4 separate regions of the Homo sapiens genome follow, and all the other regions are linked to region 3. The links are contacts of gene promoters, found by promoter capture Hi-C in human tissues and cell types (Jung and others, 2019). All regions are on one chromosome and are shown on one strand. Each heading gives the region's core, a stretch centred on a gene start or on the middle of the fragment in contact. The rest is flanking DNA. Distances are from core to core; before and after follow the strand shown.

The links. The method cuts DNA at HindIII sites, captures the fragments that hold promoters and counts their contacts. A contact is called where the count stands out against the background at its distance.
Region 1: a fragment that was not itself captured here is called in contact with the fragment with the promoter of UCK1 in region 3 in 1 of the 25 tissues and cell types used here (spleen).
Region 2: a contact is called between a fragment that was not itself captured here and the fragment with the promoter of UCK1 in region 3, in 4 of the 25 tissues and cell types used here (IMR-90 fibroblasts, adrenal gland, dorsolateral prefrontal cortex and 1 more).
Region 4: a fragment that was not itself captured here is called in contact with the fragment with the promoter of UCK1 in region 3 in 3 of the 25 tissues and cell types used here (IMR-90 fibroblasts, aorta and hippocampus).

Annotation. Positions count from the first base shown.
Region 1 is chr9:132,230,937-132,238,512 of GRCh38, forward strand. All of the region lies in intron 5 of NTNG2 (netrin G2), which reads left to right. Among named protein-coding and RNA genes, the nearest start is that of NTNG2, 73 kb to the left of the region's middle. The HindIII fragment of the contact is 6,849 bases long and covers 734-7,576 here.
Region 2 is chr9:132,101,806-132,108,658 of GRCh38, forward strand. LOC105376302 (a long non-coding RNA gene) reads left to right here and starts at 1,415. Exons shown (of 3, transcript XR_930403.1): 1 at 1,415-1,502; 2 at 1,908-2,001; 3 at 2,367-2,777. The HindIII fragment of the contact is 4,547 bases long and covers 1,120-5,666 here.
Region 3 is chr9:131,526,668-131,533,265 of GRCh38, forward strand. UCK1 (uridine-cytidine kinase 1) reads right to left here and starts at 4,596. Exons shown (of 7, transcript NM_031432.5): 1 at 4,400-4,596; 2 at 3,819-3,978; 3 at 2,821-2,917; 4 at 2,461-2,603; 5 at 2,277-2,371. The coding sequence starts at 4,507. RefSeq lists enhancers at 1,848-3,047, 3,753-4,666 and silencers at 4,082-4,131, 4,332-4,691, 4,832-5,001. The HindIII fragment of the contact is 11,870 bases long and covers 1-6,598 here.
Region 4 is chr9:132,286,042-132,292,481 of GRCh38, forward strand. SETX (senataxin) reads right to left here. Exons shown (of 26, transcript NM_015046.7): 16 at 2,509-2,610; 17 at 2,195-2,310; 18 at 382-453. Among named protein-coding and RNA genes, the nearest start is that of SETX, 66 kb to the right of the region's middle. The HindIII fragment of the contact is 5,333 bases long and covers 1,088-6,420 here.

The DNA.
Region 1 (7,576 bases), core at 2,908-5,407, 700 kb after region 3:
CCTGCTCCTCCTGCCACCCACGCCACTTCTCTCACCTGGATCTGGGAGAGCAGTCTCTCCTGCCAGTCAAGAGTGGGGTGACCTTCCCCCACCAGGGGCAGAATCCACCCCCTAGCCTAACCATGGGGGCAGCCTCCCTCTGGGCAGCCTCTGCAGCCAGCTTGTCCCAGGGCTCTGCTCGTCCAGGTCAGCTCAGGTCCCAGGGGAGTCGGACCAGGGAGGGGCATCTGCAGGAGGTGGGGGTCCTGAGAGTTCCCCAGGAGGGCGAGGGCGACATGGCGCCCACAGGTTATCAGTAAATGTCATCGAGACTGTCCCCAGACACTCACAGGGTGCCAGGCACGGTCTCTCCTTTCAGCCTTGCAAACCCCTCCCCCTGGGAGGTCGCCATCTGCTCTGCGAGGCAGCAGGAGAGGACTGGCCAATGTCAAAGAGCCAGCCGGGAGCAGACCCCAAATCTCAGAGATGCTTCTGGGGTGCACCGTCACCCTCCACCAGGGCTCTGTGGGGCCCCACATCCCACCCAAGTTGTCCCTCCCGGACCCAGGGGGCCCCTGGCTGGGAAGCCAGTGAGCCGAGAGGGCGCCAGAAAGAAGCTGGACCCTGCAGGGACGCTGGTCTGCACAGCCGTCGTAAGTTGCTTCTCTGTGGTGTCCCCACCCCGGCAACCCCCCAACCCTCTCTTGCTTTTCCCATCTCTCACCAGGCATCAGCAGGTCCCAGAAAGACCCCGACCCCAAAGGCCCTGTGGCCACTGCGGCCACCACAGCCATGACAGGGGCCCCTACTACTCCTGTCCCCTCCACGTCCACTGCCTGGGCCCCCATGGCGCCCAGCACCCCACAGCCCACAGGTGGGTGCCAGGGTACAGCGACCCCTGTCATCCCACCCTCTCCTGCTTCTAGCCTGGGTCCCTGCCTCTCTTGGGGTGGGAGGGTCGGCAGCCCTGGGCAGAGAGCAGGGGCTTGGCTCTTAGAATAGAGACGCTAGAACCCTAGAGCTGGGAGGCCACAGGCCAAAGGGGCTTGAGGACACCTGGGTCAACCTGTTCCTGAGCCCAGCCAGGGGATTCAGGGATCAGTTCAGCTTCCAAAGTCGTCTTCCTCCTGCCCTTCAAGCCATTGCTTGGAAGGGCTCCCAGACCATTGTGGCCAGACGGCTGCAGGAACTGAGAGGAAAGGTGCTGGGGGCAGCGAGGCCATCCTGACATGCAGCCAAAGACTGGCCTTATCTCCCAATGGTGCTTCTGCCTCCGTGGTCCCTGGAGCCCCGCCCACACCCTGTCCCCACCTGGCCCCCAGGGCCTCTCTGTCCTTAGCCCCTCAGCAGCACACCGGTGGGATGGATGGAGCAGGGTTAGCCCAGAAAGCAAATGTCTCTGATCAGCAGGGCAAAGGGAGCCTCTGGAGCTGAGTTTGGACACCGTGGGCTGCTGGGAATGTGGAGGCTGTGTGTGTAGTGCAAGGCCAGGCCAGGGCCAGACGTCCTGCCCCCTCAGGGGTCTGCCACAGACAGGCATGGAAACCTGATTCTCGCTCCCCTCCAACGGAGGGATTCACGTGTATTCAAGGCTGGGGGTGCTGGAGTGGGCCTCTGCTCTCACCTGGACTCACCTGGGGAGTATCCCTGCACTCTGTGCAGTGCAGGTGCCAGGGGTCTGAAAGGATTTATCCTTCCCAGAGGGCACCAGGAAGACGATGACCAAGGGGAATTCTTCCTGGTCCCAGCCAGGGAGGGGTGCTCCAATAGCCTGCCACACCCTGTCCCCCGCCACCCTGCAGGGAGGACCTGGTGGGGACTCCTGGCCCCTTGGGTAGTGCCCTGGCCCTCCATCTCTCTGATCCAAGGAGACCTGCCCCACTGATCCTTCCCCCTTGGGGGGTGGCATTTCTAAAGGGCAGAGTCCCCTCCATCAGCTCCTGCCTCGGCCTGTTGCTGGGTGGACACTCAGGCTCCCCAGACAGGGGCAAATGCTGAGAGAAAGACCTCCTCCTTCCTAGGCCATCCAGAGCAGCTCCCCTGGGGGCAGCACACCCCACCTCTTTCTACATCCTTCCTTTTCTGCAGGAGGCATTTACAGGAGGCAGGGGCTAGCCAAAAGATTGGAGGATTTCCGGGAAGCCTCCTGACCCAGGAATCCTCTTTGGGGTGGAAGACATGGGTCACTCTGAGAATTCTGGACTTCAGACATAGGTTGGCCCAGCCACAAGGGACCTGTGCTTTGCTGCTGAGCCTGTGGTGGGCAGACAGAAGCAAAAACAGTGGTGGTGGGTGCTGTGCCTGTCTCCAAACAGGGGTTTGGCTGGGAGGCCAGATACTCTCCATATCACATGTGCAAGTGCACACATGCACACACACACATGCATGCACACACACAGGCATGCACACGCACATGTACACACACACACACACAGAGGAATCCATTTGCAGAGCTGCTTCTGACTTGGTGCCAGGGCAGCCGTGGGAGGCTGGGCAGATTGTGCAAAGTTGGGAATTAAAGAGGAAAAGTCAGAGGCCAGAGTGGGAAATGCAGGGGAGGTGAGGGTCCCCAGGACCCCCTCAGTGAGCAGAAGGCACACCCTCCCTCTCGGCAAGACAGTGCTGCTCTGCACCCTCAGCCCTGTATCAAGAAGCAGGACATTAGGGGAGGAGGTGGCTCCAATGTGACAGCCAGTGGCCCCTACAGCCCACATCTAGGGGCTCCTCCCTCCTCTTCAGCAACTGAAGCCCCTGTCCAGAGCCCCCATTAATGAAAACGATCATTGCAGTAGCTGAGGGTGAGTTCTCCTGGGCTGTGCTCGTATCATTGTATCATCATATCATTGTATTCTGGGCTCACAGCTCCGTGAGATGGAGGCTGTTATTTTCCTAGTCCCACAGGTGAGGGGATCGAGGCTTAGGAAGAAGCAGCTGGATTTTATGATATGTAAATTACACCTCAATCAAGCTGTTTCAGAAGAAAAAAGGGGCAGCTGCTCAAGGTCTCAGAATTATGGAGAGGCACGGGCAGGATTTGAACTCAGGGCTCGCCAACTCAGCCACCCAAAGCTATTGTCCTGAGGCCTCCAGGGGCTATGAGGTAGAGCTATCTTTTTTTTTTTTTTTTTTGAGATGGAGTTTCGCTCTTGTCGCTGAGGCTGGAGTGCAATGGAGCAATCTCAGCTCACTGCAACCTCCGCCCCCCCAGGTTCAAGCAATTCTCCTGCCTCAGCCTCCCGAGTAGCTGGGATTACAGGCACCTGTCACCATGTTCAGCTACTTTTTGTCTTTTTAGAGAGACAGGGTTTCACCATGTTGGTCAGGCTGGTGTTGAACTCCTGACCTCAAGTGATCCACCCGCCTCAGCCTCCCAAAGTGCTGGGATTCCAGGCGTGAGCCACCGCACCCGGCCAAGTAGTGCTGTCTCCAAGGCCTGGCTTGCAGGGCTTCCCAGTTCCAAAGGAGCAGACCGGGCTTCCATGGGGCCTTGGCACAGCACACAGGCCATGGCGAGAACTTGCTTCCCACACACCTGAGTGTGTCCCTGGGCAGCCAAGCCAGGACTCTCTCCCTCCCCAAGACCCTGGTCCCTGAAAGATCCTGAATACCCCCGAGTGCCTCCCAACAGGTGCTTCGGGCTCTTTGAACAGAGTCCAGCTGGGCCTCTGAACTCCTGGGCCAGATGTTTCTCCCGCCTGCCAATGTCAAGCTGTCTGGAGGACAGCGCTGCGGGCGGAAAACGCCGCTGGAGACACTAATCCTTTCCTGGGCTGGGCCACGGAGGATGGAGGGAGACAGGCTCTGAAGCAAATGCCTTCAGGGCTGGCTTTCTCATGGCTCTAATTAAGCCCTTGCCAATTTGGGCCTGGCGGCCTCATCTTCCCACTGAACATCATATTAAAGTCAATTCATGTCCAAAGCTCCCCGCTCCCAGCTGGAAAGTCTTCCGCACTTGTTAGCTGGTAGCTTTTCCTTTTCTTTCCCCACAGCCACCGTTGTGTATAATCCCTTCAAGAAGCGGAAAACAGCAGCGCTCCCCTGTCCCTCTGGGTTTGTCCTTTGAAATTTGGGCACAGGGCAGTTCTTTGCCAGCCCTGCCTGCCTGCCTTGCTGGCTGTGTGTCCCGTTAGTCTACGGGCTGAGCGTTGTGTCACTGGTTCATGCTGGGGTCCCTGGTGAAAATGGGCCAGGCCAGGGGTCAGGAAGGTAGAAGGGCAGTGATCAGGGAAGCAGGTCAGATGCTGGGGAAGGCTCCGGTCCCTGGATTGCGGCTGGACAGGAAGGACACCTTCCAGGACACTTCTGGACACATGTAAGATCTTGGCCGGAACACATGTCCCACTTCGCAGCCATTAGCCAGAGACATCAGCTCAGAGAGGTCTGGGCCCAGAGGCGGGACCTGGTCTAGCTCTGTCCTTCAGTCAGAACGGGGACGGCACAGGGAGTGTAGAAGGGTCTCGCTGAAGAATATGCAGATTCTCAGGCATGGGTTCACCTCTCATCTATCGGGCTTTAAGTCTGCATGTGCCCTCCACAGGCTGAAATAGTGTAGATGCTGCCTATGTAGTAGATTTGGACCCAATTCCTTTGGCCAGTGTAGACAGAGCCTCTCCTTATAGTGCTGCTGCTTCTAAGGGGCCTGTGGGGTGCGGGGCTGTGATGCCTCAGTATGTACCCAGCTTCCCTCAGCACCACCCCCTCGCATAACTTGGTTTCTTCTCTTCTTCCCCCCAAGAGTGGACCAGGCCATCTACGGCTGCCCCTCTCTCGAGCAGGTGGTCCCAGGTGGCCTCCCGTGCAGAAGGTATGGGGGGGCAAGGCCTGTGATGGGCCTGAGACCCCGGGGAAGCGCCCTCTTAGACTCGTAGGCCCCTCCCTCTGTAGTGGAAGTAGCAGGTGTGCATGGTGGGGACCTGAGGTTGGAGGGGGGCCGCAGGAACCAACTGAGGGCACGGGTGTAGAATGTCGGTGCCTGGGGAGCTCTAGGGCACAGTGGTGAGGGAGCGGCCTGGTAGAGCAGGTCTACCAGCTCTGCCCCCAAGCTCACCTGCTTCAAGAGGTTCCATGTGGCACCCCCACGCCAAGCCCTTCCACCAGCACTCCCTCCGAGGGCTTCGGAGTCTGGTAGAGGCCCCGCCTCCCACGACAGGAACCCCCCTCTCCAGCTGCCCTTGCTCACAGGACACCTGGGCAGTTGCTGGATCAGAGAGTCAGAGGGGGCTTCCTGCAGGAGCGGGGGCCATGAGACCTCGGAGGGTGGACTGTGGTGGGTGAAGGGAGAAGGCAGCACATTCCAGGCCGCAGGGCCAGCCGGGGCAAAGGCTTGGCAGTGGGATGGCAGGGAGCCTGACAAAGTGGAAAATGTGTGGGTTAAAGGAGGGAGGGCGGGGTCCTGGAAGACACTGACATCCTCCTGCTACGTGGGAGGAGACACAGGGCTCATCTGTAGCCATAGACAGACATGCCAAGGAAACGCGCAGGCCTGCCCGACTCTCCAGAAGGGAAATTGTCCCTGGCCCCAGCTCACCAAGCCTGGGTGGGGAATTAGGGCCTGAGGTCTAGGGAACAGGTGAGCTGTTCCTTCCAGCTCACATGTTCAAATTTCCTCCAGCCCCAGCTCTGAGCAGCGAGCAGGGCTTTGAGCGCCCTCTACTGGCAGGAAGCTCTGGCGCTGGAAGCATGTTTAGAGAGGGTCTGAGGCTCGGTTCCTAGAAACCTGGAGGACCTGGGCCTGGTGTCCTCTGTGGTGATGGAGACAGAGCTGGCGGGAGCCATCGCTTCCCTACCCTGGGCCAACCAGGGCACCACAGACCCCCAGAGGGAAGCCAAGGTAGTGACGATCCCGGGACAGTGGCCTGCTCACCCACAGATAGGGCGTTGGGGTCCCAGCGGGATTCTGGGCAGTGGAAGGCAGGTGCCGTCCGTGTTCCTGGCTTGACAGCACTTGCGAGTGGGACTCCAGGGACAGCGAAGGATTCACTTCGGCTGGAGCAGGAAGAGTGTTTCAGAAAGGAAGGGAGATGCCAAAGTCCTTAAATGCCAAGTTTAGTCTCTGGGTTTGATGCTCCAGGAAGTTTGGAGAGGCGGTGGGGAGAGCAAGAGACGGGCGTGGTGTGCAATGTGATGTCAATCTATCTAAAAACAGTTTGGCTTCCAAGAAGGTCTTAGCAGGGCGCGGGGGTGTCAGGGGTTACAGAAGTCATTTGGAGGATTAATCCAGCCAGATGTGTCCATGGTCTCAGAGAGGGGACCAAGGGCAGGGCTGATTTGCAAGCTTGGGATGTGCTGTGTTTCCTTCAGGAAGGGGCCCCACCTCCCTGGGCTCTTCGAGGAGAGGGGCTGTGTGATTTGAGGCCAGAGGGGCCTCTCCCTCCCTCACATCTGAGCAGGCGACAAGGCTGCCTGCCCTAGAGCTGGCCCAGGGCGGCTCGGAAGCCTTTGCTGGGCTCTTCCCTGGGCAGTGGGACCATGACAGACGAAAGAACCTGTTTCTCATCTCTCCAAGCTGTGGGCACCCCTGCCGCTGCCCCTGCCCCTGCCAAGGGCTACAAACTTTTCCAGCTCAAGCCCAAATCTCCTCAAGTGATGCCTATTGAAGAATTCCAAGGTAAGAGGATGGACCTGGGGCCCCATCAGCCCTCCCTGACACCTGTTCCCCATCCGCCGCTGGAAAAAGACGGTGCAGGATAGAGGACCGATGCCTGGCTCCGAAAACCCTCCTGGAGTAGCTGGGTCAAGGTTAAACTGAGTCTCTCTTCCCTACAGGCCTCCCTCCCCAAGGGAGCTGGGAGCAGGTATGAGTCAGAAGCCAACTTGGGCACAGTGGGCAGGCCACACAGCAGGCAGAGCAGATGCCAGAAATAGCCCATCCCGGCTCCCCTGGGAGGTGTGGCCCTGGGGCTCGTGTTGGTTGAAGCAGAATCTGGGACACACGGGTCACCGATGCTGCTCTTTGGGACACTTAGAGGATGCCTCATCTCCTCATTATCTCTGGAGGGACAAAGTGAAGGGGGCAGGACTAGGTGGCCCACAGGTGGGAGTGCCCACCATCTCTCCTGGGCACAGGCTGTTTCTCTAGTCTCCCATGCCCTTGACCACTGGGTCAGTCCCTCATCCCATCACAAAAGGGAAGCTGGGTCCTCTAGAGATACACAGATGGTGTTTCAAGAGGGTGGCCGTTGTCCTTCCTTGTTCGGGGGCAGCCACATTGGCTTTCTTGCTGGAGGGTGGGTGGGTGGGTGAGTACTGTGTCCCTTCGTAGGAACATCAAGGGATGCCCCCCCATTCTTAGGGATGGTGACCTTCCTCACCAAATCCTCCATTGACAATGTGGGATTCACCTCCAATCCCTGAGAGCCTTGCCCCAGGCAGTCACGGGCTTGTCTGGTCCTTGGAGCGGAGCTGGTTAGGCAGGGGTCAGCCTGAGAACCACGTAGGGGTGGGGTGCAGGAGGCGGCAGGACATGGTGGTGGTGGTCCTTGGTATGAAACCATGTGCTTCCAGGAGCAGCGAGTCAGAAGCCGGGCCAGGACCAGGGGGAGGCATGCAGGTTCCCAGGGCTCCTGCTTTAAAGTGGCACTCACTCTTAGCATCCTGC
Region 2 (6,853 bases), core at 2,143-4,642, 570 kb after region 3:
AACAGTGGCCAACACCTGTAATCCCAGCACTTTGGAGGCTGAAGTAGTAGGATCACATGATGCCAGGAGTTCAAGAGAAGCCTGGGCAACATGACAAGACCCCGCCTCTGTAAAAAATTAAAAATTAGCCTGGTGTGGTGGCACTGGTGACCCCAACTACTCTGGAGTCTGAGGCTGCAGTGAGCTATGATTGCACTACTGCACTCCTGCTTGGTTGACAGAGCAAGACTTTGTCTCAAAAAAAAAAAATCCTTGCTGTTTGATTAAACCCAACTTAATCTCCTCATCTTAAGATCCTTAATGTAGTCACCTCTACCAAGTTCCTTTCACCTGTCAGGTAACATATTCACAGGTTCTGGGGATTAGGATGTGGAAATCTGTAGAGGGGCATTATTCTCTCTACAACAGTCCAGGAAGTTCAATATCCAAAATGAGGAATTCCAGGTCAAAAAAAAAAAAAGAGATAGAGAGAGAGAAAATAGAGGGGCAGAAGTTATCAAAGAAAAATAATACATGACAATTTCCCAAAACTTTAGGGCAAACATTTCCAGATTTAAAGAGCCTTCAGAGTGCCAGTGTAAAATCATGTCAAAAGCTTCCAAAGACAGAATGTCATACACAAAAGATCAAGGATCAGGCACTGGACTTTTTTTTTTTTTTTTTTGAGACGGAGTCTCGCTCTGTCGCCCAGGCTGGGGTACAGTGGTACAATCTCGGCTCACTGCAACCTCCGCCTCCCAAGTTCAAGCAATTCTCCTGTCTCAGCTTCCCAAGTAGCTAGGACTACAGGCATGCGCCACCGTGCCCGGCTAATTTTTATATTTTTAATAGAGACGGGGTTTTGCCTTGTTGGCCAGGCTGGTCTTGAACTCCTGACCTCAGGTGATCTGCCCACAGGCATTGGACTTTCTAACATCATCACTGGAAATTGGAAGAAGGCACAGGCCTTCATAATCTTGCGGAAAAATATTTCCAACCTAGAACTTATTGATAATCTTATTTTATTTTTAGAAAGAGGGCCTTGCTATGTTACCAAGGCTGGAATGCAGTGACTCTTCACAGGCACGACTGTAGTGCACTAGTCAGGCTTGAACTTCTGGCCTCAAGTTATCCTTCCACCATAGCCTCTCAAGTAGCTGGGACTAAAAGTATGCACCACCATGTCCAGCTGATAATTTTTTTTCTTTTAGAGATAGGGTCTCACTATGTTGCCCAGGCTGGTCTTGAACTCCTGGACTCAAGTTATCCTCCCACCTCAGCCTCTCAAAGTGCTGGGATTACAGGTGTGAGCCACTGCACTCAGCCTCCAGCTGATAATTTTATCAATCAAGTGTAAGTGTGGACTAAGTATGTTTCAGACATGCCTGGTCTCACTGAATTTTCCTTCCATGCATCTTTTCTCAAGAAGCTACTAGAGGACGTGCTCCATCAAAATGAGAGAGTAAACCAAGAAAGTGGAAAACAGAGAATCCAGGAAACAGGGGATGCAACAGAAGAGAGAGGTAAATGTTATTACAGAGGACCCAGACCACAGGTGTGCACAGGGCCCAGCACAGCAACCAGGCTGATTGCAGCCCAGGATAGAGGGCTTAAAGCAAGACACAGAACTAATAGGTTCTGAAGTTTTAATTATATTAACAAAAGCTTTAGAGTTGTGACAGAGATAAATTAGCAACTACATTGAAAATATAAAAACCCATCAAAATTACTAACTCTGAGAAAAATGAAATTGTACCAAAAAACGCAATCACAGTGCATTGGGTAGTCAGTGGCATATAATATTTTCCCAAGTCATAGGACAGTAAACACTGAATATTGGTTTAACTAGAACCTGTGATCTTGGGGTGGTGAGATAAGATAAACGTGTGTGTGCCTGTGCCTAAGAACTAAATCCTCATTTTCTATAGCAGGTAGTCGATTATATGATGCTTAAAGCTGAAACATCAAGATAAAGCTAAAAGAGTTGAAGGTGGCTGCCTCTGGGACAAGGGATCAGCACCAGTGAGTAGGGCTATTTTTAGAATAAACCTTATAGGGCTACTTGATTTTTTAAACTATGTACATGCATTTCTTTATATATCTATATATATATATATATATACATACACACACATATATATACACACATATACACACATATGTATATATATGTGTGTATATATAGTGTGTGTATATATAGTGTGTGTATATATATGTGTATATATATATGTATATATATATATTTTTTTTTTTTTTTTTTTTTTTTAAAGGGAGGAGAGAAGGGAAGAAAATCCTCTCTGAAAAAGGAGGCATTGGCGGGTTTTGGGAGGAGGCGGCCCCTCTGGCATCTTTGGGTTTTCTCTGACTTCAGCCTCATTAAATCACAGGAGGGAGATGACCTCAGCAAAGGACATCGAACCTGTGGGAGCACCTGTGAGGCAAGAAGTCCTCTGCCCTCTACCCTCACCCTCCCCAGCCATCACAGTGCGGTGGCAGACAGGCCCTGTGAGCGGCAGGCACCTGTCAGTGCCAGAGTCCTCCCAGCAGGCCTGGTGGCCCTGGTGAAGGGGTCAGCTTGGGAGAGACGAAGCTTCTTGGGATGGAGCTGGGTGGGAGAGGTGGAGAGGAGGACTTCATGGCTACATAGTACATTACAATCATGCCTGTGAATAGTCACTGCACTCCAGCCTTGAAGGGAGATGGGGCAGGGGGTGATGGAGAAACTTCCTTGCAACATGGACCTGAGTGGATCCCACCCTCCTGACACCCAATGGGAATGTTAATATGGCTCAGCTTGCTCCGGCAGCCAGAGACACCCTCTGTCCTCTGAGGTCCTCAACTCTCTGCTTCAGTCTCCAACTCAGAGAAAATCTCAAGAGAGGGGCATGGCTCCTGGCAGGGGGGTTGGGGAACAAAAGAAAATGTCGCCTCCCATCAACAATGGGTATGTGGCTCCTGAGAGGGCTGACTCCTGGCACACCCCACCCCAAGTCATGTAGGGTCACTTTGGGTGGGGCTTCTGGGTTCCTAGAGGTAGGAGGGATTTGAGCAAGACCCCAGGCAGAACTCAGGCTCTGCAGCTCTGACACCCTGGAGCTCAGTACAGTCACAAAGAAAAGTGGTGAAGAGTTCAAAGAACATGGGTCACTCCTAGCCTGAGAACAAGAGAATGGCAGGTGACCCTAGATGGCGTCCTCTATCCTCTTTTAAAATATGGCCGGGCGCAGTGGCTCACACCTGTAATCCCAGCACTTTGGGAGGCCGAGGTGGGAGGATCACCTGAGGTCAGGAGTTGAGGACCAGCCTGGCCAATATGGTGAAACCCCATCTCTACAAAAACACAAAAACGAGCCAGGCGTGGTGGTGGGCGCCTGTAATCCCAGCTACTCAGGAGGCTGAGGCGGTAGAATCACTTGAACCCGGGAGGCGGAGGTTGCAGTGAGCTGAGATCGCACCATTGCACTTCAGCCTGGGCGACTGAGCGAGACTCCGTTTCAAAAAAAAAAAAAAAAAAAGGACGGTCACCATCAAATTGTACTGGGCTTTCAAGGGAAAAAAACATGTGAGATGTGCTATCAAAACACTGAAAGAGTAGACTTTAAGTGATGAACGTTCTCAAAGGGAGAAGGAAATTCAGTGTGGAGCTCCGTGAACAGCGGACGTCTCTAATTTGAACCCAAGAAGGAATAAGCTTATTCCCCAGATTCTCCACAGAATCAAAATCCACATCGTAGGGAACTAACTAGCATTGGTGGATGGTAACATGTTAAAGAGCAGGTGTGGGGACAGGGTGTGTCTGGGGTCAAATGTTTGGAAAATGCTGAATTAAACAAAGGAAATGGGCAAGAATGCTCAATAATGTTCATTGTAAACATCCCAAAGAAGTTTATATCTTTTGACAGTTGCACCTGTTTTTAAGAAGCAATGGATGGGATTATAGTTCCATGGAACACATTTTGGGAAACACTGGCCAAGTATCTCAAGCCCCTGAGGGCTTGGCCATCCCTAGCACCTGTGTGCAATATGCTTGGCAAGAACACACATCTGTGAGCTTCTTTGCTCCCCAAACCCCCACCTAGCTAGGAAGTTCTGAAATATTTGCAGGATGGACTCCATCTTTTTGTCATGCACAAGTCATATAGTTTATGGTTTTTGCAAAAAGGTGTGTCTTTCATTAATTTTCTTAGACATGGGGAAGAGCCTTGGAAAATAGGACCTTAGCTGACTCGATTCTTCTAGTTCTTACTTTTTTTTTTTTTTTTTTTTTTTGAGATGCAGTCTCATTCTGTCGCCCAGGCTTGAGAGTGCAGTGGTGCAATCTCGGCTCCCTACAACCTCCACCTCCCAGGTTCAAGCTATTCTCCAGCCTGAGCCTCCTGTGTAGCTGGGATTACAGGTGCCCACTACCACTCCTGGCTAATTTTTTTTTTTTTTTAGTTTTCACCATGTTGACCAGGGTGGTCTTGAACTCCCTTTCTCAGGTGAGCTGCCTGCCTCAGTTTCCCAAAGTGCTGGGGTTACAGGCATGAGCCACCAAGCCTGGCCTGGCTCTTTCTTTCTTGATTCCGTGGGTCTCTCTTCAACCCCACACATCACCCTGAGAATCACCTGTTTTCATGCCCTTGTTCCAAGAGCTGTTTGTCAAGCCTTAAATGACTTATGTATTTATTCAGGGTCCCTTTACCTTTTTAAAAGGTGGAATGCCACAGGCCCACTTGCAACAGGGGCTTCTCATGCGATATTGGTGCCCTTGAGGGTGTGGAAATGCGCAGGTGACAAAAATCCACTCTGTAGTCCATTCACCAAGTCTTAGTTGATTAACGCTACTATGATACCTGAGACTGGGTGTCTCATAAATAACAGAAATTCATTCTCTGGACGTTCTGGAGGCTGGGAGGTTCTAGGAGCCTGCAGGTTCCGTTGTCTGGTGAGGGCTGGTCTCTGTGTTTAAGATGGCACCTTATTGTTGCATCCTCCGGGCAGGGTGGGGGGCAACGCTGTGTCCTCACATGGCAAAGGCGGAAGAGCAAGGGAGCTGAAGGCTGTGTGAAGCCTCTTTAGTAAGAGCCTTAATCCCATTCACAAGGGAGGACCCCTCATGGCCTAATCACCTCTTAAAGGCCCCATCTCTCTTAATTCTATCACACTAGCAACACCTGAATTTTGGAGCGGACACATTCGAACCACAGCACCAATTCCAACAACATGGTTTGGGGCTGCATCTACCTGGTTGGGGGGCGGGGGGGCGAGGAGCACCTTTTGCTCACTGGCACAAAGGTGCTGCTGAGTGGGCCAGTGGCAGCTCTGACTTCCTGTAAGGTTATAGGGTTTACAGATTTCACCAGATTAGCATAACCTGGGAGTAGCCTCGTGTCAATGATTTCTGAGTTAATTAATGGTGTCTTTGAACTCCAGAATTGAGCTGAGCGGTTTTAGACCCACACGAAGCCAGCAGCTCTGCACTGGCACCTCTGAGAAGGGAAGGGAAAAAGGACGTTTGACCAATTATATTAAAATTGCGGGCTGGGCATGGTGGCTCATGCCTGTAATCCCAGCACTTTGGGAGGCTGAAGTGGGAGGATTGCTTGCATCCAGGAGCTCAAGACGAGCCTGGGCAACATAGTGAGACCCTGTCTGTAAAAAAAAATTAAAAATTAGCCAGGTGTGGTGGTGTGCACCTGTAGTCCTAGCTACTTGGGAGCCTGAAGTGGGAGGACCACTTGAGTCCAGGAGGTTGAGGCTGCAGTGAGCTGTGATCACACCATTGCACTCAGCTTGGGCAACAAAGTGAGACCTTGTCTCAGGAGAAAAATAAAAAAAGAACTGCTGCTACTTCCTTCCTAAAAACAGGCCCCCTCTTCCTTCCACTGTGGAACTGAGCATTCAGCCTCAGCCACCAATTTTGTAAATACAAATTTCCCCTTCCCCTCGCACACTGACCCTCAAATCTCTAAGCAGCCTGAATAGCACACGAGGGTACTATAGGGCACATCAGCATGCCCTGAAGGCAACCTGGACGTTTAATTTTTTAAATTTTTTAAATTTTGTTTTTTGAGACAGAGTTTCCGTCTTGTTGCCCAGGCTGGAGTGCAGCTGTGTGGTCTCAGCTCACTGCAACCTCTGCCTTCCGAGTTCAAGCGATTCTCCTACCTCAACCTCCTGAGCAGCTGGGATTACAGGTGTGCACCACCACGCCTGGCTAATTTTCGTATTTTTAGTAGAGACAGGGTTTCACCATGTTGGCCAGGCTGGTCTCGAACTCCTGACCTCAGGTGATCCGCCTGCCTCAGCCTCCCAAAGTGCTGGGATTACAGGCATGAGCCACCATGCCCAGCCCAACCCGGCCTTTTAAATTTTTACCACTTCAGTGTTTTCTCACTCTGGGTGGGAGGGAATCTTCTGTATTATAGCATTTCAGAAACACTCTTGAAGACAGGATGGAGACATGTAATGAATCTTTTTGATTTCCAAGGTATGTCCTGTGTTTGTGAGTGAGATTGTTTGGGGGTATGAGTTCCCTGGCTCAGTGCTTCTCAAATTTGAATGTGTAAATGAATCACCTCAATACTTATTAAACATGCAAATCATGATTCAGCAGGTGTCTTTCTAACAAGCGGCCAAGTAATGTTGATGTGGCCAGTCCACCGGAGGTGCAAAGCATGGCGATGGTGCTGCCCGTGCTTTGGGATCAGAGACCCCCGTGTTACAATCCTGCTTCTGTCTTTTACTCACTGCTTGACCTTGAGTAAGTTATTGACCTTTACGGAGCCTTAGCTTTTTCCTCTGGAAGAGACAGAGAAATGGATATCCACTTCCAAACACTCTTGTTAGAATCACATGAGATCATCTACCTCTTAACATTCTTGTTAGAATT
Region 3 (6,598 bases), core at 3,346-5,845:
TGGGCCGAAGGACGGAACTTGGAACGGTGCGTGCTGCTGGCGTGTGGATTTGGGTCAAGAAGGCGGCAGAAGAGACAAGCTGCAAGAGGCAGACAGGGACCAAGTCCTGGGGACAGCTGTGTCTGCAGTTGGTGGGACCCCATCTCATGAAAGCACGAGCGCAAGGGCGAGGGCTGCTTTCTATTCTAGTCTGATAGTCTGACGGGCTGGAGGAGTCCGGGAGAGCTGACAGGGGTCTTAACCGCCAGCAGGGATGGGCCTGAATACAGTTGGGAAATACCTACGGGGTCCAGGCAGAGGACTGCACAAGCCACTCAACATGAAGGTGAAGGAAAAGGAGGCTCAAGAACGGCTCTGGGTGGGGCTGGGGCCGGGTGCGGTGGCTCACGCCGGTGATCCCAGCACTTTGGGAGGCTGAGGTGGGTGGACTGCTTGAGGCCAGGAGTTTGAGACCAGCCCAGCCAACATGGCAAAACCCCGTCTGTGCAAAAAAAAAAAAAAAAGGAAAAATTAGCCAGGCGTGGTGGTGCGTGCCTGTAGTCTCTGGCTACTCAGGAGCCTGAGGTGGGAGGATCACTTGAGAGTGGAAGGTGGAGGCTGCAGTGAAGCAAGATCTCACCACTGCACTTGGGCCTGGGTGGCAGAGGGAGACCCTGTCTCAAAAAACAAGCAAGCAAACAAACCAACCAAAAACATCTCTGGGGCCTGGGCCCAGAACATAGCAGGTGACAGCACTTCCTCTACTCAGGTCGCTGAGGCAGATTTGATATCCAGAGTTTTACTGCGAATCACCTACTTTTTGCCAAATATCTTTCTGTGAATGAGAGACTAAAACAAGTTAACTTTACTTTTAAAATTATATTTTAGAAATTTCAGACAGCATGAATGCAAAAAAAAACAAAAGTTTTCTTTATATAGCAGCCAATAGGCCAGGCATAGTGGCTCACACCTGTAATCTCAGCACTTTGGGAAGCTGAGGTGGGAGGACCACTAGATCCCAGGAGATGGAGACCAGCCTGGGCAACACAGGGAGACCCCATCTCTACAAAAAATTTAAAAATTAACCGAGCATGGTGGTGCACGCCTGTGGGCCCAGCTACTCGGGTTGCTGAGGTGGAAGGATCGCTTGAGCTTAGGAGGTCAAGACTGCAGTGAGCTGTGATTGCACCACTGTACTCCAGCCTGGGCAACAGAGCAAGACTCTGCCTCATTAAAAATAAAATTTAAAAAAAGGCCAGGCACAGTGGCTCAATCCCAGCATTTTGGGAGGCCAAAGTGGGTGGGTCACTTGAGTCCAGGAGTTCGAGACCAGCCCAGCCAACATGGCAAAACCCCATCTCCACTAAAAATACAAAAATTAGCTGGGTGTGGTGGCGTACGCCTGTAATCCCAGCTACTCGGAAGGGTGAGACAGGAGAATTGCTTAAACTTGGGAGGTGGAGTTTGGAGTGAGCCGAGATCGTGCCATTGCACTCCACCCTAGACGACAAAAAGAGACCCTATCTCAAAAAAAAAAAAAGCAGCAGATAGAACTTACTTGTCCTACATTATCAAAGGCAGGAATCTTGGTTTCAGTTCCTTTGTGCTGTATTTTTACCTTAACAGGCAAAATGTTCCCGTGCAAAACACTCCCATTTGAGTAGAGCCACGAGTCCCACCAAGCCAGAAACACAAGATGGAGAAATGGAGAAAAGACAGGTGGGTGTGCAGCGGGGAGTTCCTGCTCTCTGCGAGCCAGCTGGGATCTGGGCACAGCGCTCACTCCAAGATTTCAGAGCACTGGCCCAGAGCAGCCTGGGGTCACAGACCCTGGAGGAGCAGCTCTGAAGCACCTTCTGAGGGCCAGATCCCGGCCTTGGCAGTGAACAGACTAAAGTGCTCCTGGGCTTCCCCACTCTGCGGGGAATAAGCACCCAGGACGTGTCAGATGATGGTAAGTGCCCCGGAAAAAGGAAGCAGGCAGAGAGGCTGGCGCTGGGTGCAGAGGGTTTTCAGTGTTGAATGGGGACGCTGGGCAAGGGCCTGAGGCAGGGAGGAAGCGGCCAGTGTGAATGTGGGGGAGATATGGGGCTTTTTTAGGCAGAGGGAGGAGCAGGCACAGAGAATGTTTTTACAGCTGAGAACTACTCCCAGGGTATGTGGCCATAATGAGCCAAATTCTTCTCCTTTTTTTCAATCAGATCACTGTCACCCAGCACTAAGCCCTCTCACAGTACTGGGTCCCATGTGTCCTTGTGAAAGGGGAAAATGGGCTCTGAAGCAGCGAGCACAGGTACCGGCAGGCAGAACTCCTCGAAGGCCGGCTTCACGAAGGTGGTGTACTGCGTCAGAATCTGCTCCAGGTCCCTCCCTCGGCGCACGTCCCGGAGAACTGCAGCGGCAAGGGGCAGGCGTGCTTCAGACCTCAGGACCTGCCGCCAGCCTCGGCCAGGCAGGCACGGAGGCCCGCGGCCGCCTTACCTCTTCGAGACAGCCTGACGTCGGAGTCGGTGTCCACGAAGAGGCGCAGGTGGAACATGTCCCGGATCTCCTGGCTGTAGAACACCAAGATGCCCTCAAACAGAACCACGTCCGCAGGGTAGACCACCGTGGTCTCTGGTAACCTGAGGGGCGCACGGGGAAAGGGGCTCTGCTGCAGACACAGGGTCTCCAGGCCACACACACAGTCAGCTTCCATTGCAGGGACACTGACTGTGGGAAGGGGTGGGGGACCCACAGAAACCAACCGGGGGAGGCCTGCCGCCAGGCAGGTCTGTGTGAGCCCGAGGGGACGTCCTAGCTGGCCCCTCTCCTCGGCCCTCCCTAGAACCACCTGCTTACCTTGAGTGTGTCACAAAATCATAGGTCGGCACCTCCACCGTTTTGCCCTCCACGATGTTCTTCAGAGTCCTGTGCATCAAATCATTATCAAAGGCATCTGCAGGGTTGGAGACAAAGGCAAGACAGGCAGATGCCCTCGTGCAGCGGACAGCAGGGAACCCTCTCTGCTCTGGGGTCAGCACAGCTGGGTGCTGGGGACACCGAGAACCCTAGCACAGGTAGACTAGGACTACGGCAGTGTATGTTTGGTAGCAACAGTGCCCTCTGCAGCCCTGCAGACCACAGGATGACCCTGTCCTTGCTGTTCTCGGGCTGTGCCACTGCCCAAGCTCTGTGCCCCTGAGATGCCGGAACACAGGGGTTTTCTGATCAGCTCTTCCTGGGAGGTGGGTAGGCTGGGCCTCTGCTTCTCTCTCTTTCTGGGACTAACTGGTTAGACTGCGGCTTTGCAGGCCTTCTTCCCACAAGTCCTTGGGAAAAGGCTGACCATGCCAGCCAGCCAGGGTGGAATCTTCTAGCAGTGGCAGGTGTCTCCCTGCCGCATCTGCCCGTTTACCTGGCCCGGAGCTTCAAGCCACCAGCACTAGTTTACCTACCGCCTCCCACACTGGCCTCTCTGAGGACTTTGCCCCAAAGCACGGGAGGGCACAGTGGGCAGAGGTGTGTGTGGAGGGCCCTAAAGGCCCCAACGTGGGAAGGGAAGATGGGAGGATTTCTCCAGGATCACAGTTGTGGCAGGGCAGGGCAGGGCTCCCCACAGTGCAACAGGCTTCCTGACTGGCTCCAACCACGCTCCTGGGGGGACACTCAGGGCCCAGAGAACTCAGCAAAGTTCCCCTGACTTCACTGTGCAGCCAACTCCACTGCAGGCTGCGTGGCGAGTTGGGGGAACAGCCCAAGCGGGTCTGCATCCATCCAACCTTGGGCCCAAGCGCAGCTGGTTAGCGGCCGCCCAGAATGGGGTCTGCCCTCCCCACATCGTTGGGCTCGCGATTTACCTGGATGGTCAAAATTGTACTGTCCTTTCAAGGCCTTGGCCTTCTGCTCTGCCGTCAGGACCTTGTAGAACCTGTCCTGGCTCAGGATGACCACCTTCCGCTGCCGCTGTTCCACCTCGTTCTGTCCCAGCAACTCCATGATCTTCTCACACACGGTCGACTGGAGACACAGAAGCGGGATTCCCGCCTGGAACCGCTCGTCCTGTGACAGGCACGGGGCCGGCTTCTGGAGACACTGACCCACCCGCCCCCTGGGGGGTATGCTCGGAAGGCGGGAGGACACCAACAGGTGTGGATGGTCTCAGCGGAAGGGCCGCGGGGGCCCAACGGGGTTAGCACGGACTTGGGGCTCCGAGGAGCCCGGCCGGCGGAGAGGCTGTGGGGGAGCCCCGAGGCCCAGCGCCCCAACCCCTCGCCCGCCCCAGCCCGCCCCGGCCCATCGCGGCCTGCAGCCCCTTCGCTCCCGCGCCCTGCCCCTGCCTGGCAGGGGGCCCCTCGGCCGGGGCTGGGGTCTCCTCTCTGGACCGGGCCGCCCGTAGGCACCGGCGAGAGGCGAGACCCCGGCCCGCTCGGCCCCTTACCTTCCCGCTGGCAGTGCCGCCGCTCACCCCTATCAGGAAGGGCCGCTGGTGCGGACGGTCGGCCTCCGGCGCGGGGCTCTCGCAGTCTTCGCCTCCCGCCGAAGCCATCTCGGCCTCCGCTCCCGCGCATCGGGTCCCCGCGCCCGCCCCTTCCCCAGGCCCGGCGCGCCCGCCCAGCGCCGAGGTCGGAGGCAACCGGAGCGATCACTTCCGGGAGGCGCGCGGGGCACGCCGGGAGTTGTAGTCCACCGGGGGGGGGGGGGCCGCGCATGCGTGAGGGTGCAGGGCCCGAGGCCGGCACACCAGGAGCGCCCGCGTCCCATTGCGCCGAAAGCTGGCTGGCAGGGACTGCTGCGCCCGGGCCTCGAGCCGGCTACAAGGTCTCAGACTCAAGTGGCCCGGAAGGTGCCCGTTCCGCACCCCGAGGCTGGGGCTGCGCCTTCGTCCGAGTGCTTGCCTCTGCCTCGCGCTGCCTCTGCGCCAGTCCCGGGCCCTCCCCCGGCCGCCCCCGGGCCTGGCCCCCTCCAGCCCAGGCTCCTCTTGGCCATCGAGGCCTCCGGACTGTCCGGACGCCTCCCACCCCACCCGCTGCTGGAGCCGTCGGGGCGCCCCGGAACGTGGCGGGGGCTGTCGCCTGATGACTTTAGGCTCGCGCCTACAGCGCGCCAAGGAGGCAGAGGCCCATGTGCCGGGTTCCATCCCTGCCGCCCCCCCGCTCCGTGCCTGGCACAGAGAACGTGACAGGCAAATTCTGATCCATTGAAATTATGGATTTCCAGCCGGGCGCGGTGGCTCACGCCTGTAATCCCAACACTTTTGGAGGCTGAGGCGGGTAGATCACGAGGTCAGGAGATCGAGACCATCCTGGCGAACACGGTGAAACCCCGCCTCTACTAAAAATGCAACAAATCAGCTGGGCGTGGTGGCGGGCGCCTGTAATCCCAGCTACTTGGGAGGCTGAGGCAGGAGAATCGCTTGAACCCGGGAGGTGGAGGTTGCAGTGAGCCGAGATGGTGCCACTGCACTCCAGCCTGGGCCACAGAGCAAGACTCCGTCTCAAAAATAAAAAAGAGAGAGAGATAGCTAAGGCTCGGGGCAGAGCATGCTTTTCATATACAAAACAGACAACCCCGGGCGGACGCGGTGGCTCACACCTGTAATCCCAGCACTTTGGGAGGCCGAGGCGGGTGGATCACGAGGTCAGGAGATCGAGACCATCCTGGCTAACATGGTGAAACCCCGTCTCTACTAAAAATACAAAAAATTAGCCGGGCATGGTGGCGGGCGCCTGTGGTCCCAGCTACTCGGGAGGCTGAGGCAGGAGAATGGTGTGAACCCGGGAGGTGGAGCTTGCAGTGAGCCAAGATCACGCTACTGCACTCCGGCCTGGGGGAAAGAGTGAGACTCTGTCTCAAAAAAAAAAAAAAAAAAAAAAAAGACCCCAAGTCTACAGCCCCAGCTACCTCCTTATCTAATTCTCGCCTTTGGAGGCAAGATTCTCCCTGCCCTAAGTCACCCAGGGCCAGGTATCAGGTGACTAGAGACCACTCTGCAGCCCAGAGCCTGCTAGAATTACTCAAACTAGCCAATTTTAAACTCTTTCCCTGCCCTGCCAGGCCTTTTCCATGGAAACCCCAAGAAAGCCTCAGGCCTGGGCTCTCCCCTCGCCCCTGCTTCTGCCTCCTGACCAAACCTGGGGTTCTCTACTGAGAACCGTGCATGGCATGGGTGCCCCTTCTCTCAGGAAATGCGATCAATCTTGCGATGGCTTTGGCCTCTCCTCATGGTCATTCAGCCGTACCTCTGTAAATTAAGCCCCAGGCACAGAACAGTGCCTAGCAAACAGCCACGCTGCTGGCTTAGATCTGTCCAGGTGTGTGTCCCAAAGGTGGCCATCCCCCAAGCCAACTTTGAATTTGTATCAAGGGAGAGTTAGACACGGTTTCTTGCCATTTCTTCCCCTGTGGTCCAGCCACGTAGCGAAAGGCAGGGAAACTAGCAGAGTCTGACCAGGGGCTGTCCCTGATACCCCTGGCCTGGGTCTCGTGTGCCCTCTCTGGTGACTGGCCACAAGGCATGGGCTGCCAGGGCCAGTCAGGCTATTGCGTGGTTCCGCTCCCAAGGCAAAGGGACGCTTTGGGAAGGAGCCACTCCCTGGGAGCAGGCCCAGCACCCAGGAAGCCCACAGTCCAGTAAACA
Region 4 (6,440 bases), core at 2,504-5,003, 760 kb after region 3:
GCGTGGTGGCACACGCCTGTAATCCTAGCTACTCGGGAGGCTGAGGCAGGAGAATCGCTTGAACCCGGGAGGCAGAGGTTGCAGTGAGCCAAGATCACGCCACTATACTCCAGTCTGGTGACAGAGCAAGACTTCACCTCAAAAAAAAAAAAAAAAAAAAATTAGCCAGGCATGGTGGTGCACGCCTGTAATCCCAGCCACATGGGAGACTGAGGTTGCAGTGAGCTGAGATCATGCCACTGCACCCCAGCCTGAGAGACAGAGTGAGACTCTGTCTCCAAAATAAATAAATAAAAGCCCATAGCTTGTCTGAACAGTCATACTTAAATTTTAAAAAGAAAAAAAAAAAAATCAAGAAAATGCTACAGGTGAACTACTTACCTCTTTAATTTTAGAAGCAAGTTCCTGCCTTTCCTTAGAAACTTTGGAAATGTTTTCATCTAATTCTTGCCTCTGGAAAAAAATTCAAATGTCACAATTAAAACTAAACTAAGCATTTTTAAATGCCTTCCAATGGACTACCTCTAATTTTAAAAGAGCCTGTATTTCACCAATGAAAAATGTATTTACCCAGCTTATTTCCTCTTTACCACTGGAGTCCTGACACACTCTGTATGCTGCTGCGTAAGACTCAGCTGTGTTCTGTGCGCTGCACGTGAGCTGTCTGCTTAGCATTCCAGCACTGGGAGCATCACGCCACCCTTAACTTCCAGGTGATTCAAATGAGGCTGTAAATCACACCCCAACCATTCCTCTGGCCACAGTGATGGGCATCTAACACAGGCCTGGCCAATCATGCACCCATCTTCTTAAAAATAGGGATTAGACCTGCTTGCTCACCCAGGGACTAAACTAACTGCTTCTTTGGATATATGGATGCTAAGAGAAAGACTTTCTCTCCCTCTGGGGTTTCAAAGCTGAGATGGTGGAAGCCCTGAGATGCTGACACTCACCTTTCTCAGAAGAAATGGCTGACACACAGAAAAACAAATTATGGAGTGGAGAAATGATATCATGTGACCCTCTGGATCCACCCATACTGAAGCTAATTCCCTTTCTGTCTAACCTAATTTGAACTGGGCTCAACATGCAACTGAAAGGCAACTAATAAACTCAGTATAGCTTTAATATAAGGCAGTACAGCCTATAAGCCAAATGCAAGGCCATGTGCAGGGACTCATGCCTGTAATCCTGGCACTTTGGGAGGCTAAGGTGAGAGGACTGCTTGAGGCAAGAAGTTCAGACCACCCTGGGCAACATGGCAAGACCCAGTTTCTACAGAAAACAAACAAAAAAATTAGCCAGGCATGATGGCACACGGCTGTAGTCCCAGCTACTCAAGAGGCTGAGGCAGAAAGACAGCTCACTTGAGTCCAAGAGCTTGAGGCTAAATTGAACCACAACTGCACCACTGCACTCCAGCCTGGGCCACAAAGTGAGACCCTATCTCAAAAACAAACAAAAACGCAACACCCCATCTATTTTCGTAAATAAAGTTCTACTGGAACACAGCCACATCCATTTGTTTATGTATTATCTATGGCTGCCTTTGTGCTACCAAAAGCAGAGTTGAATAGCTGCAACAGAAACCAACCATATGGCTTGCAAAGCCTAAAATCTTTACTAGAATATCTTGCCCTTTACAAAAAAGTTTTTAAAAAGATTTTTAACAAAAGTAATTTTAATAAAAGAAAAAATGAAAAAAAAAATTAAAACCAAAAGGACAAAAAAAAAAAAAGCAGAAAGAAATGTGTTAATCTGAGACACATTTTTAGTGTCTTAGTACACATTTTTATACATGAATCATGCCATTCCCCAATAAATAAAGGGCATTAAATACTCATTAATTAGGCTGGTCGCAATGGCTCATGCCTGTAATCCCAGCACTTTGGGATGCTGAGGTGGGCAGATCAACTTGAGGCCGGGAGTTCGAGACTAGCCTGGCCAACATGGTGAAACCCCATCTCCATTAAAAATACAGAAAATTAGCCAGGTGTGCCGGCACAACCTTGTAATCCCACCTACTCGGGAGGCTGAGGCAGGAGGATCACCTGAACCCAGGAAGGTGAGGCTGCAGTGAGTCAGGATTGTGCTACTGCACTCCAGCCTGGAAGACAGAGCAAGACTCTGTCTCAAAAAAAACTTGTTAACTAGTTCGTATACCTGAGTTATTATTCAAGAAATGCAAAGATACCTGTATTTCCCGTCCACCTCGGCATAGAGCTCGCTGCCGGGAAAGCTCATCCAGCTGATAATCTAGAAATTCCTTTCTTTTATGCATCGCCTGAACATGAGAAGGTAACTCTTTTTCTAATAAAAATAACAAATAAAAAATTATATGCTATTCTAATTCTAACAAACTCACACACATATACAACACAATGAGAAGGAAAATTAGTTCCCAAAGCCAGACTAATTCTGGAGGCTTCAAATTACCTTTAGTGCCCAAGTCATTTTCCACCAAACAAAACAGAGAAAACACTAGTATATACCACATTCAGTACTTACTCATTCTGTGGTTTACTTGGCTGTCCAAACTGAACTTTAGAACCTCACTATTAATAGACTTTTCTGGACCCAGTCGTACTAAATTTATATCTCCACAGTTTCCTGTTGATAAGAATCACAGTTAAGGACTAATAAGGACACTGCTGATCAATCCTGTCTCTATACATAGTATCTATATTTCTAAGTAAATATGTTAATAATCAGAGAAGGGAGCAAACATGAACTTCCAATTAACCAGACACCAGGGACTACACCACAAACTTCTTATACATTATTTCAGATATTGTTCCTAACAATCCTATAAGGCAAGTAGTTATCATTTCTACCTAATAAAGGTTAGCAAGGCCATCTAAACAGTACACTACAGAGTTGAGATTCTATTACAGTAACATTTTCAAACTATGTTCAGTAGGACATTCCATAGCAAAATAGTTTCAAGAAAAATGATGAGATAAAATAAACGAAGCAGTTCTCTCATGTTGGGGAAAGGGCTTGTGGGGTGCCTGCATAAACCAGCCATAAAAATATGGAACAGTAAGTTGTAGAAAGCCACAAGAGGCCTCTGAGGAGTAAAGCCTTCTAATTGCCATCATGTTCCCATGACCAGAATGTGACCTGCTCTCCTATCTATAAACACTGTGCTCAAGGAGAAAGATACTCCTTTGAAGCACTGGAATGTGGCCAGATATGCCAGCTCCTAGTTAGGCCCACTCCCCACAGCTGCTCTCTGATAAGTTAAAAAATAAATCAGTAGTTAAGTTTATACTGCTTCAGCACAAAGAAAATTTACCTAAACCGCCATTCCTATACATTAGGTGTATGACACACGGCTCTCCTTTCACCATTTCACTATTTATTTCAATAAATAGTGTGGAGATCATAGCTTGGAGCCTTTGCAGCCTCTGATTTGCTCTGGCCCCCTGGTTCCCTCCTTTATGAACTCTTAACCTGTCTCTTCTCATTTCTTTGTCACCACTGCACTTCGGGTACCCTACGGGTGGTATTGAGGCTGATCCCCAACACTCTTAACTGCAGAATATTTCAAAAACTTTTATATGTTATATATTAATATGTAATTTTCAGAACAGAATCTTATTTGACCATCGAGCCTTCTTTTGCAGAATACTCAGAATAAAGCTTTTAAAACTATGTTCCACATCACCTTGATACTCTAGAAACTAAGGGACACAAGATGATAGAAATTCTTGGATATAATAATTGCAAGAACTATAAAAACCAATTTAACCTGCCTGTTTACTAACCACATTTTAATCTCAGGTTAACACATTGCTTTCTTCTTGTCCTTTTGGTTTTAATGTTTTTGTTTTTTTCTTTTATTATAATTTCTTCTATTGGGTTTTTTAAAATCTTTTTTCTGACCAGGCACAATGGCTCACGCCTATAATCCCAGCACTTTGGGAGATATAAGTGGGCAAATCACTTGAGGTAAGGAGTTTGAGACGAGCCTGGCCAACATGGCAAAACCCCATTTCTACTAAAAATAAAAAAATTAGCCAGGCATGGTGGCACACACCTGTAATCTCAGCTACTCAGGAGGCTGAGGCTGGAAAGTTGCCTGAACCCAGGAGGTGGAAGTTGCAGTAAGCCAAAGATTGCACCACTGCACTCCAGCCTGGGTGACAGAGCAAGACTCCGTCTCAAAAAAACAAACAAAAAAACACCTTTATTCGTCTTTATTTTTTTTCCCACGTGTTATTATTTTATTTAAAAATTCTCCATTACAAGGCTGGGCACAGTGGCTCACACCTGTAATCCCAGCACTCTGGGAGGCCAAGGCAGGTGGATCACGAGGTCAGGGGTTTGAGACCAGCCTGGCCAACATGGTGAAACGCCATCTCTACTAAAAATACAAAAATTAGCTGGACGTAGTGGCACATGCCTGTAATCCTAGCTACTCGGGAGGCTGAGGCAGGAGAACTGCTTGAACCCAGAAGGTGGAGGTTGCGGTGAGCTGAAATCGCGCCACTGTACTCTGGCCTGGGAGACAGAGCGAGACTCCGTCTCAAAAAAAAAAAAAAAAAAAAAAAAAAATTCACCACTACAGCCAGGTGCAGCGGCTCAGGGCTGTAATCCTAGCACTTTGGGAGGCCAAGGTAGGCAGATCGCTTGAATCCAGGAGTCTGAGACCAGCCTGGGCAACATGATGAAACTCCACCTCTATCAAAATTGACAAAAATTAGCCAGGCGTGGTGGCCTCCCCCTGTGGTCCCAGCTACTTGGAAGGCAGAGATGGGGGTATTGCTTGAGCAGGGGAGGCAAGACCAGTTTCATAAATAAATAAATAAATAAATAAATATTCCCCACTATATCACTGGGCTAAATTATGCAATCATGTAGAGTTTGTCAGCATTTATTCTAATTGGACACGTCACAGTTATTTGTTTACTGTCTATCTCCATCCTTTAAATGTTAAGCCCCAAAAGAATAGGGTTTTGATCACCACCTAGAAGAGTGGTGGGCACATAATAAATACAATGATTATATGAAAAATGAATGGCTTATTTTTAGTTATCTACAGCATATTTTTTATCCCAGTTCAGCTCATTTTCCTAAATTTAAGGTCAACATTTACTTGAGGGTTTGAAAACCTTTTTTTTTTTTTTTTTTTTTTTTTGAGACGGAGTCTTGCTCTGTCTCCTAGGCTGGAGTGCAATGGCGCAATCTCGGCTCTCTGCAAGCTCCGCCTCCCGGGTTCACGCCATTCTCCTGCCTCAGCCTTCCGAATAGCTGCGACTACAGGCGCCCCCCACCACGCCCAGCTAATTTTTTGTATTTTTAGTAGAGATGGGGTTTCACTGTGTTAGCCAGGATGGTGTTGATCTCCTGACCTCGTGATCCACCTGCCTTGGCCTCCCAAAGTGCTGGGATTACAGGAGTGAGCCACCTCGCCCGGCCTGAAAATTTCTTAATTCACTTACGTTTCCACTAGAAAGGTAGATGAGATTACCTGGAAACCCACCTACTATAAGCACCCAGAAATGTTCCGCAAATTATAACAGATATCCTTTACACTGCTGGGTAAGCTCAGGGGAATGTTAAGAGAAATCCCTAGAGGCCAAAAACAGAGAGAGAGCTGAAAACCAGATTTGAAAGCCCCTGAGCTGTTGTGGCACCCGTAAGGGAGCAAGGCTGGGCAGTGTCTAGGTGCCTGGGTGTCTGTTTTGTTCTTTAACATTCTTGAGGTATAATTTACATTCAGTAAAATGAACAGACTTTAAAATTCTATTGAGTTTGACATTGCTAAAGCTACCATTCCAATAAAAACATATAAATTTCTACAATGGGAGCTTGCTAATGCCCACAAGAAAGTAGAGGGGCCTGAAAGAGGTGGAAGAATTAAAAACAAGTGTAATTATCTTGGCTTAGGCTCAGCTGGGCCAGGAAAAATGATTTTAATTAAAATATAAACTATTAATCAAGTGATTTAATTAAATTTAATTCCATCTATTAATTACTGATTTAGATAAAATAATTTTAAAATAATTTATTTTTTCTGGCTTACAAAAAATAAATTTTCTCCTTATACTTTCCTACCCCTAAGCCTGTGTCACATGTGCATTTAGGGAATAAATATATAATACAGCAAACGTGGTCAGGGGCAGTGTCTCATGCCTGTAATCCCAGCACCTTGGGAGGCTGAGGCAAGAGCATTGCTTGAAGCCAGCCTGGGCAACACGAGGAGACCCTGTCTCTACAACAAAAATTTAAAAATTAACCCAGTGTGATGGCAAACCTGCAGATCCAGCTACTTGGGAGGCTGAGGCAGGAAGATCACTTGAGCCCAGGAGGGCAAGGCTGCACTGAGCCATGATCATGCCAATGTACCCCAGCCTGAGCTGGGGTACAAAAAAAAAAAAAAAAAAAAAAGAAAACATGATTAGACTTATAATCATTAATGACATTTAAACAGC